2 separate regions of the Homo sapiens genome follow, and region 2 is linked to region 1. The links are contacts of gene promoters, found by promoter capture Hi-C in human tissues and cell types (Jung and others, 2019). All regions are on one chromosome and are shown on one strand. Each heading gives the region's core, a stretch centred on a gene start or on the middle of the fragment in contact. The rest is flanking DNA. Distances are from core to core; before and after follow the strand shown. Region 1 holds the start of CTSS (cathepsin S). Region 2 overlaps GOLPH3L (golgi phosphoprotein 3 like).

Region 1 (4,138 bases), core at 1,639-4,138:
CATCTCTACTAAAAATACAAAAATTAGCTGGGTGTGATGGCACATGCCTGTAATCCCAGCCACTTGGGAGGCTGAGGCAGGAGAATCGCTTGAACTCGGCAGGCAGAGATTGCAGTGAGCTGGGATCACACCACTGCACTCCAGCCTGGGCAAGTGAGTGAGACTCTGTCTCAGAAAAAAAAAAAAAAGAAAATTATTGTTCATTTATTTTAGATGTGATGATGGTATTGTGGTATTATATTTGTTTAATAGTCTCTGTCTTTTAAAGACACACACAGGGACATTTACGTATGAAATGACAGAATGTCTAGAATTTATTTAATATAATTCAGGTAGTGAGAGTGGGAATATAAATAAAATAAGATTGGCCATGTACTGATCATTGTTGAAACAAGACAATGGTTTCACGGCAGCTCATTTTACTACTATTTTTACTTTTACATGTGTTTTAAATTTTCCATAAGCAGTATCTTTTTAAAAAAAACTGTATGGCTACAAACACAAACATGTCTACTACAGCTGAGATGAATCAACATTATAATGATGTTACTTCTCCCTAAATTTATGCATATATTCAAATAAAAACTCTAATAGCCAGATGTGGGGGCTCATGCCTGTAATCCCAGCACTTCAGGAGGCCAAGGTGGGCAGATTGCTTGAGCCCAGGAGTTTGAGGCCAGCCTGGGCAACATGGTGAAACCCCTTATCTACAAAAAACAAAAAACAAAATCAGCCAGGCATGGTGGTGTGCACCTGTAGTCCCAGCCACTCCAGAGGCTGAGGCGGGAGGATCACTTGAGCCCAGGAGGTCAAGGCTGCAGTGAGCCATGATTGCATCACTGCACTCCAGCCTGGGTGACAGAATGAAACCCTGTCTCCAAAAGAAAAAAGCAAAAAACTCCAACAGAGTTTTTCAGGGAACTTGATAAACTGATTCAAAAAATTCATATAAAGAAGAGTTAACAAGTACAAAATACAAAGACAATGTTTAAAAAGAAGAACAAAGATAGGGTGGCCTAGATGACTTGCCTTACCATACGTGGAGACATATTACAAAGCTGTTTTAATTAAAACTGTGTGATACTGAAGTAGCAAAAGATAAAAAGAACAGCTTCATGAGCTCAGAAACTGACCTATCTATGTATGAGAATTTGGTGTACAATAGAGGTAGAATCAAAATTGGAAAACAAAGAAAATAAGCTCCCTACGTCATACCATACACAAAACTAAATTCCAGGTGAATTAAACACCTAAAAGCAGTAGCCATAGAAAAGATAAATAAAACACTCTCTGAAAGTATAAAAATAAGATGAGTGTATCTTTATTACATTTGGATGAGGAAAATTTTCTTATACAAAAACAGTATAGATTGATTATACGGAAAAGCTGAATAAAATGTTCTACCTCAACATAAAAAAATTTCATATAGAAAAACTCACTATAAACAAGACTAAAGGACAAGTGGAATTTCATAGGCTTATGCAAAGGAAGAAAAAATAAAATAAAAGACAAGTGGAAGACTAAGGGAGGATGTTTTTAAGGGTATATAACTGTCAAAGATTAGAAGCCAGAATATATTTTTAAAACACATACACCTTGGCCGGGCACGGTGGCTCACACCTGTAATCCCAGCACTTTGGGAGGCTGAGGCGGGTGGATCACGAGGTGAAGAGTTCAAGACCAGCCTGGCCAAGATGGTGAAACCCTGTCTCTACTAAAAATACAAAAATTAGCTGGACATGCTGGCAGGTGCCTGTAATCCCAGCTACTTGGGAGTCTGAGGCAGAGAATCGCTTGAACCTGGGAGGTGGATGTTGCAGTGAGCCAAGATCGCACCAATGCACTCCAGCATGGGAGACAAAGCACGACTCCGTCTCGGAAAACACACAACACACACACACACACACACCTCCCACAAATCACTAAGAAAATGCAACAATACAATAGAAAAATGAGCAAAAAAGATGAACAGGAAATTCACAGAAAATTCAAACGGTCAATAAATGTGTGAAAAGATCCTCAACCTCATTAGTAATTAGGAAAATGCAAATTTAAAAGATGATAGTTCGTCTTGCTCCCACCCCACCCAGGTAATCATTCTCAATTGGATATATTTGAGTGTATCCTTTTTTCCATGAATATACTAACACATACACACACACACACACACACACACGCATATTACTAAACTATACATATAGTATATATTAATAAAGACATTTTGAGTTTGATGAACGAAGGAATGGCTGAGTGAGAACCAGACAATATCAGATCATGAATGAGTTGTGTTAAAAGCAGTAAGACAGGTTTTCCTAGGAAATCATACAAGGAGCTGGGATTTGGGGAGCTTTATCTAAATCTCTTTATAACTAAATGTTTTCCATGTAAAAGTTGGTGTTTTTAAAATTCAATTTAATTTTTTTTTTGAGATAGGGTCTTGATATGTCATCCAGGCTGAAACACAGTGGCATAATCATGGCTCACTGCAGCCTTGTCCTCCTAGACTCAAGCAATTCTCCCACCTCACCCTCCCCCTCAGCTGGGACTACAAGCATGCACCACCATGCCCAGCTAATTAAAAAAAATTTTTTTGCAGAGACAGGGTCTCACTATATTGCCTAGGCTGGTCTTGAACTCCTGGCCTCAAGTGATCCTCCCGCCTCAGCCTCCCAAAGTGCTGGGATTATAGGCATGAGCCACTGGGCTCAGACAAGGGCTCTTCTTGATGGCTTACTGTATCCACTTTGTCCCCAAGACCATAGGGAAATGACTAGAGGTGACTGTACTAGCTAGATTTTAAATGAAACTGAAATGAAAGTTCACTTCCTCATTTTGAGTACCTCATGTGACAAGTTCCAATTTCTTTTCAAGTCAATTGAACTGAAATCTCCTTGTTGCTTTGAAATCTTAGAAGAGAGCCCACTAATTCAAGGACTCTTACTGTGGGAGCAACTGCTGGTTCTATCACGTATGTACTCTTTGTTCTTTTTCTCCCATTTGGTCTTCAAACACTCTGTGTTTGTAACTTGTTCTGCCTGCTAGGTTTTAAATCTTTGGTTTCAGGAAGTAAACTAAAAAATCGTGTCGTTCAATTTGCCTCTTCTCTATTTTTAAAAAGTTAATGTCTGCTTGAGCATCTAAGCATCTAAGTTGAGACTGAAACATGGCTTTCTTTGGAATATAATTTAAAGGCTTACATGTTTAAAATTCCAGATGTTTTCAATTAAAAAGAAATGGAAAAGAAAGTAGAATCCAGTTTGAGGGAGCTAGTCGCTGAATTTCTGTTGATGTCTCTTGAATTAAATACAGAAGTGGCATTTTAAAGAGTAGTTAATTGCCTCATTTGAAACAGATGTCTGATCATTAAAAAAAAAAAAACGTAAAAAGGAAAATTACCTACCTAAAGATGTGAAAGCAATAGATGAGAATTGTCTTTTAACTATCTGTAAAGACTGTGGATATTTAAACAGGTCAGTTAAGAAGAGCCCATGTATTCAAAAATTCAGGAGATAAACTGATTTTTCAGAGGTTTGTCTCTCTTAAGGATGATTTTTTTTTTTTTTTGAGAGAGAGAGAAAGAGATTTCCTTTGATTAGATTTGTTGGCAAATCCTGGAAAGTCCCTGTTTTCTAACCCTCTAGATGTGTTTGGTTTACCAGATATTGGGAAATTCCTGGAAATCACTTTTTAAAGTGCTACTAAGCATTGGAAGTAGTATTTCTGACATAAATCTGCAGCTGTTCCCTGTGACTATATATCCCAGGAATTTTCCTGTATAATTCTGTTTATAATAGTCTGTCCCTTTGATAGACTTTGCATTGTTATTTTCTCTTATGAAAACATGTGGTCACAACATATGCAGCTAATAGCAACACTTCCTATGTTACCTTTCCTTACACAGAATGAAACGGCTGGTTTGTGTGCTCTTGGTGTGCTCCTCTGCAGTGGCACAGTTGCATAAAGATCCTACCCTGGATCACCACTGGCATCTCTGGAAGAAAACCTATGGCAAACAATACAAGGAAAAGGTAGATTGGATTGCCACTCGAGCGATATGCTTTTAAAGGAGTACTGTTTTCTACCTCTTAAAATTGTGTTCTTACAGGCAGTGTTTTCAGTAAATATTTAAGCTGGGTGT
Region 2 (4,138 bases), core at 1,639-4,138, 79 kb after region 1:
CATGGTGTCACATACCTGCAGTTTCAGCTACTTGGGAGATTGAGGCGAGAGGATTGCTTGAGCCCAGGAGTTCAAGGCTGGAGTGAGCTGTGTTTGTGCCACTGTACTCCAACCTGGGTGACAGAGTGAGACCCTGTCTTAAAAGAAAAAAAAAAATTCTTCTGAGGGGTAACTACCACAGACTGGTTTTAAAATATTAAGCATCTGGCCAGACGCAGTGGCTCACATCTATAATCCCAGCACTTTGGGAGGTTTGAGGCGGGCAAATCACTTGAGGCCAGGAGTTCGAGACCAGCCTGGCCAACATGGTGAAACCCCATCTCTACTAAAGGAAAAAAAAAATTAGCTGGGTGTGGTGGCATGCACCTGTAATCCTAGCTATGCTGATGGGAGAATCTCTTGAACCCAAGAGGCAGAGGCTGCAATGAGCCAAGGTCACACTACTGCACTCTAGCCTGGGTGACAGAGTAAGACTGCCTCAAAAAATATAAACTAATTAAATTAAATATTAAGTATCATTGTCTTATGAAAACAATCAAGAAATTTAAATATAATTTGAAGAGTATAACCTTTCAAGCACAGTTAAAATTAGATACTATCTCAGTTCAATAACACTGACCTCAACTGAGAAAGTAAACATTGAGCACAAGCCTGACCAAAATAAAATAGGTTTATCTCCTGTTGAAATCAGGAATCTGCTTATTTGTTATTATTGCCTTTGGTAAGAGTTTTGATATAGATTATTAACTCATGAACAGTGTTTTAATTGACTTGCTAATGTATAAAACTTTTCATTTATTAGAATCGTTTCTTAAGTTACCTGTAAGGGGAGTAAGCCAATTACTGCTTTTGACTCCTAGTGGTCTTTTCATTTCTCATCTATTTAATTTGTGGATAATGTTTTTCAACCATCCTCTCTTTCTTGGAAAGCTTTCTCCTAGTAATGCCATTTATTGAATACTTACTACTTACTGTGAAAGAAAAGCTTTTCATCATATTTCTCATGTCACTGTGGTAAAAATTGGCAAGAAGTATTATCCATTGGAAATATGGCAATACATTTTCACTTATTTGTTTAATCACCAAAAATTTTATTGAATGACTCATATGTCATAGAAAGAGAGAACAAAAACAATTGTCCCTGCTTTTGAGGTCAATTTATGGTTTAGTGGCATAGGGATGGTTGGAGATGCTGGGAGTAGAAGCCAGAAAGTCAGCAGACCATTTCAGAACAATGTGATATGTGTATAAGTGTGTTCTGAGTAGGAAGGAAACACAGAGGAAAAGCACGTAAATCAGATGGGTGGTGGGAAGGAGCAGTAGGAGAGGGAAGAAGAGATGTTGGGAAAGACTTACAGGAGGTGATAACTCTTTTTTTTGTTGTTTGTTTGTTTGAGATAGAATCTCATTCTGTCACCCAGGCTGCAAAGCAGTGGCGTGATCTTGGCTCACTGCAACCTCCACCTCCCGGATTCAAGCGATTCTGCTTCCTCAGCCTCCCAAGTAGCTGGTATTACATGCACCTGCCACCATCCCCGGCTAATTTTTGTATTTTTGTAGAGACGGGGTTTCACCATGTTGGCCAGGCTGGTCTTGAATTCCTGACCTCAGGTGATCCAACTGCCTTGGCCTCCCAAAGTGCTGGGATTACAGGTGTGAGCCACTGCGCCCCGCCAGGAGGTAATAACTCTTAACTGGAATAAGAGTGAGTTAGTCTGTAAAGAGACAGGTTCTAGGAAAAAAGAACATCAACTGGATGTTCCTAATAATTTCAGTGATGTGCAACTGGAATAACCACAGATGTCTGAAAGCATCCCATCTCCTTTTAATGAACTCCAGTGTTTTAAAACTGAAGTATGAGAGCTGAACATCCAGTTACATGCTTTATTGTTTAAGTTTTCTAAAATTGTGAAATACAGTGTATCCAGAAAATTGTATAAAGCACATATATACAGTTTAACAAGTAGTTTGAAAGCCAACAGTCATGTAATCACCAATAGAACAATATCAGCATCCTGGAAGGCTTCTCTTATGCCTGCCCCTAATCACATGCTGCCCACTTCCCTGTAGTTTTGACATGTATGTATATCCCTAAACAATATATTTTAGTTTTGCCTGTTTTTAAACTCTATTTTATTGGGTTAATATTTTAATGTATTCTTTTGATCAATATAATGTTTGTGAGATTTGTCCATGTTGTTGCATATAGTTTAATCCAGTTCATCCTGATTAATATTTCATTACATGAATATACCACTATTCATTCTATGGGTTAATGCACATTCAAGAGTTCATTATGAACAGTGCTGCTAAAATTCTCCTGGTACTTGTCAGTTATCTTTTTTCAAACAATCTACTGTTATCCACTATACGTATGGGAATTATACGTATGAAATTCATATGTATTTTTAATTATAAAGTATGTTAATGCTACGCTTTTTCAAGCTGCTGATGATCCTCCATCAAGTATAGTTCATCTTTATTAGCAATAGGAGATTAGAAGTAAAAGCTTCTTTAAAGCTGGTAAAAAAAATTCACTAATCAAAAAGTTTTTTTTTGTTTTTTTTTTGAGACAGAGTTTCGCTCTTGTTACCTAAGCTAGAGTGTAGTGGCACGATCTTGGCTCACCGCAACCTCTGCCTCCCGCGTTCAATTCTCCTGTGTCAGCCTCCCAAGTAGCTGGGATTACAGGCATGCACCACCACGCCCGGCTAATTTTTTGTATTTTTAGTAGAAACGGGGTTTTACCACGTTAGCCAGGCTGGTGTCGAACTCCTGACCTCAGGTGATCCGCCTGCCTCGACCTCCCAAAGTGCTGGGATTACAGATGTGAGCCACCACGCCCAGCCCAAAAAGGTTTTTAAAATCAGTCACAGTCAGTCAGTGTCCAACTTGTTGATTATTGGCTATGAATGAAGAAAATTGGCCGCCTTAAAAAGTGACTCAATCCTAAAGCATTTTATTATAATTAAAATATTAATAGCAGGCCGAGCAAAGAACAAGACCTTGTCTTAAAAAAAAAAATTAAAAGTCTAATTTAAGTTACTACCTGGTCTTTCCTTTTAGTTTCCTAATCGCGCAAAATGAACAATAAGTCTCCCAGTAGCTACTGCGATTGTGAATAGGGCAACTGTATCAGAAGGGCTTGTTTGTCAGGTTTTTTTCTTTAAACATAAGCTGTTAAAAAAATTAACTTTTGTTTTTTATTATATCCAGGCATATTAACCCCAAATAACTATTTACTATTGGTATAAAAGGAAATAAACTGGAAGACCAAAGACCTGTTTTAATAGTAGGAAAATATAGCTTAAGCTATTTCATTAAGATCTTCTCCCTAATTCTTCCAATCCCCAAATGCACACAGTACTCTCCCAAAATATAAAATATCTAGTATTGATATTGAGACAAAGCTGCCCACTTGAATTTGGGATTTTGGCTGTAACCACTGTGCCTATAAACTTGCTGTCAGCCATTTCATCACTTTTGCCTCCATATTTTGTTTGTATAATTTATTTTCAAAACATTTTGCAGTTTCTATTGTTTAATCCTGCAAGGCAGGTATCATTCTCTTTATAGGAGTCAAAGTTAAATGATCATTTGGGCAATAAATTGTGGAATTTACATTCAAACTGACTCTGCAACTGGGCGTGGTGTTTCACTGCCTGTATTCCCAGCAGTTTGGGAGGCCAAAATGGGAGGATTACTTCAGGCCAGGAGTTCAAGACAAGCCAGGGCAACAAAATGAGACCCAATCTCTACAAAAAAATGAAAACAGCCCTGCGTGAACCTATAGTCCCAGCTACTCAGGAGGTTGAGGTGAGAGGATCACTTGAGCCCAGGAGTTCGAAGCTGCATTGAGCTATGATCACACCACTGTGCTCCAGCCTGGGCCACAGAGCACGACTCTGTCTCAAAACAGGAAAAACAAAACAAAAACAAATATCTGACTTTGCAGTTTAAAAAGGACATGCTGGCTGGGTGCGGTAGCTCACGCCTGTAATCCTAGCACTTTGGGAGGCCAAGGCAGGCAGATCATGAGGTTAGGAATTCAAGACCAGCCTGGCCAATATGGTAAAACCCCATCTTTACTAAAAATACAAAAATTAGCCGGGTGTGGTGGCACGCACCTGTAATCTCA

The links. The method cuts DNA at HindIII sites, captures the fragments that hold promoters and counts their contacts. A contact is called where the count stands out against the background at its distance.
Region 2: a contact is called between a fragment that was not itself captured here and the fragment with the promoter of CTSS in region 1, in 2 of the 25 tissues and cell types used here (IMR-90 fibroblasts and liver).

Annotation. Positions count from the first base shown.
Region 1 is chr1:150,764,528-150,768,665 of GRCh38, reverse strand. CTSS (cathepsin S) reads left to right here and starts at 2,888. Exons shown (of 8, transcript NM_004079.5): 1 at 2,888-2,968; 2 at 3,902-4,028. The coding sequence starts at 3,903. RefSeq lists cis regulatory regions at 2,942, 2,945 and enhancers at 2,870-3,014, 2,873-3,017, 3,948-3,997. The HindIII fragment of the contact is 11,511 bases long and covers 1-4,138 here.
Region 2 is chr1:150,686,007-150,690,144 of GRCh38, reverse strand. All of the region lies in intron 2 of GOLPH3L (golgi phosphoprotein 3 like), which reads left to right. Among named protein-coding and RNA genes, the nearest start is that of GOLPH3L, 9.1 kb to the left of the region's middle. The HindIII fragment of the contact is 5,683 bases long and covers 47-4,138 here.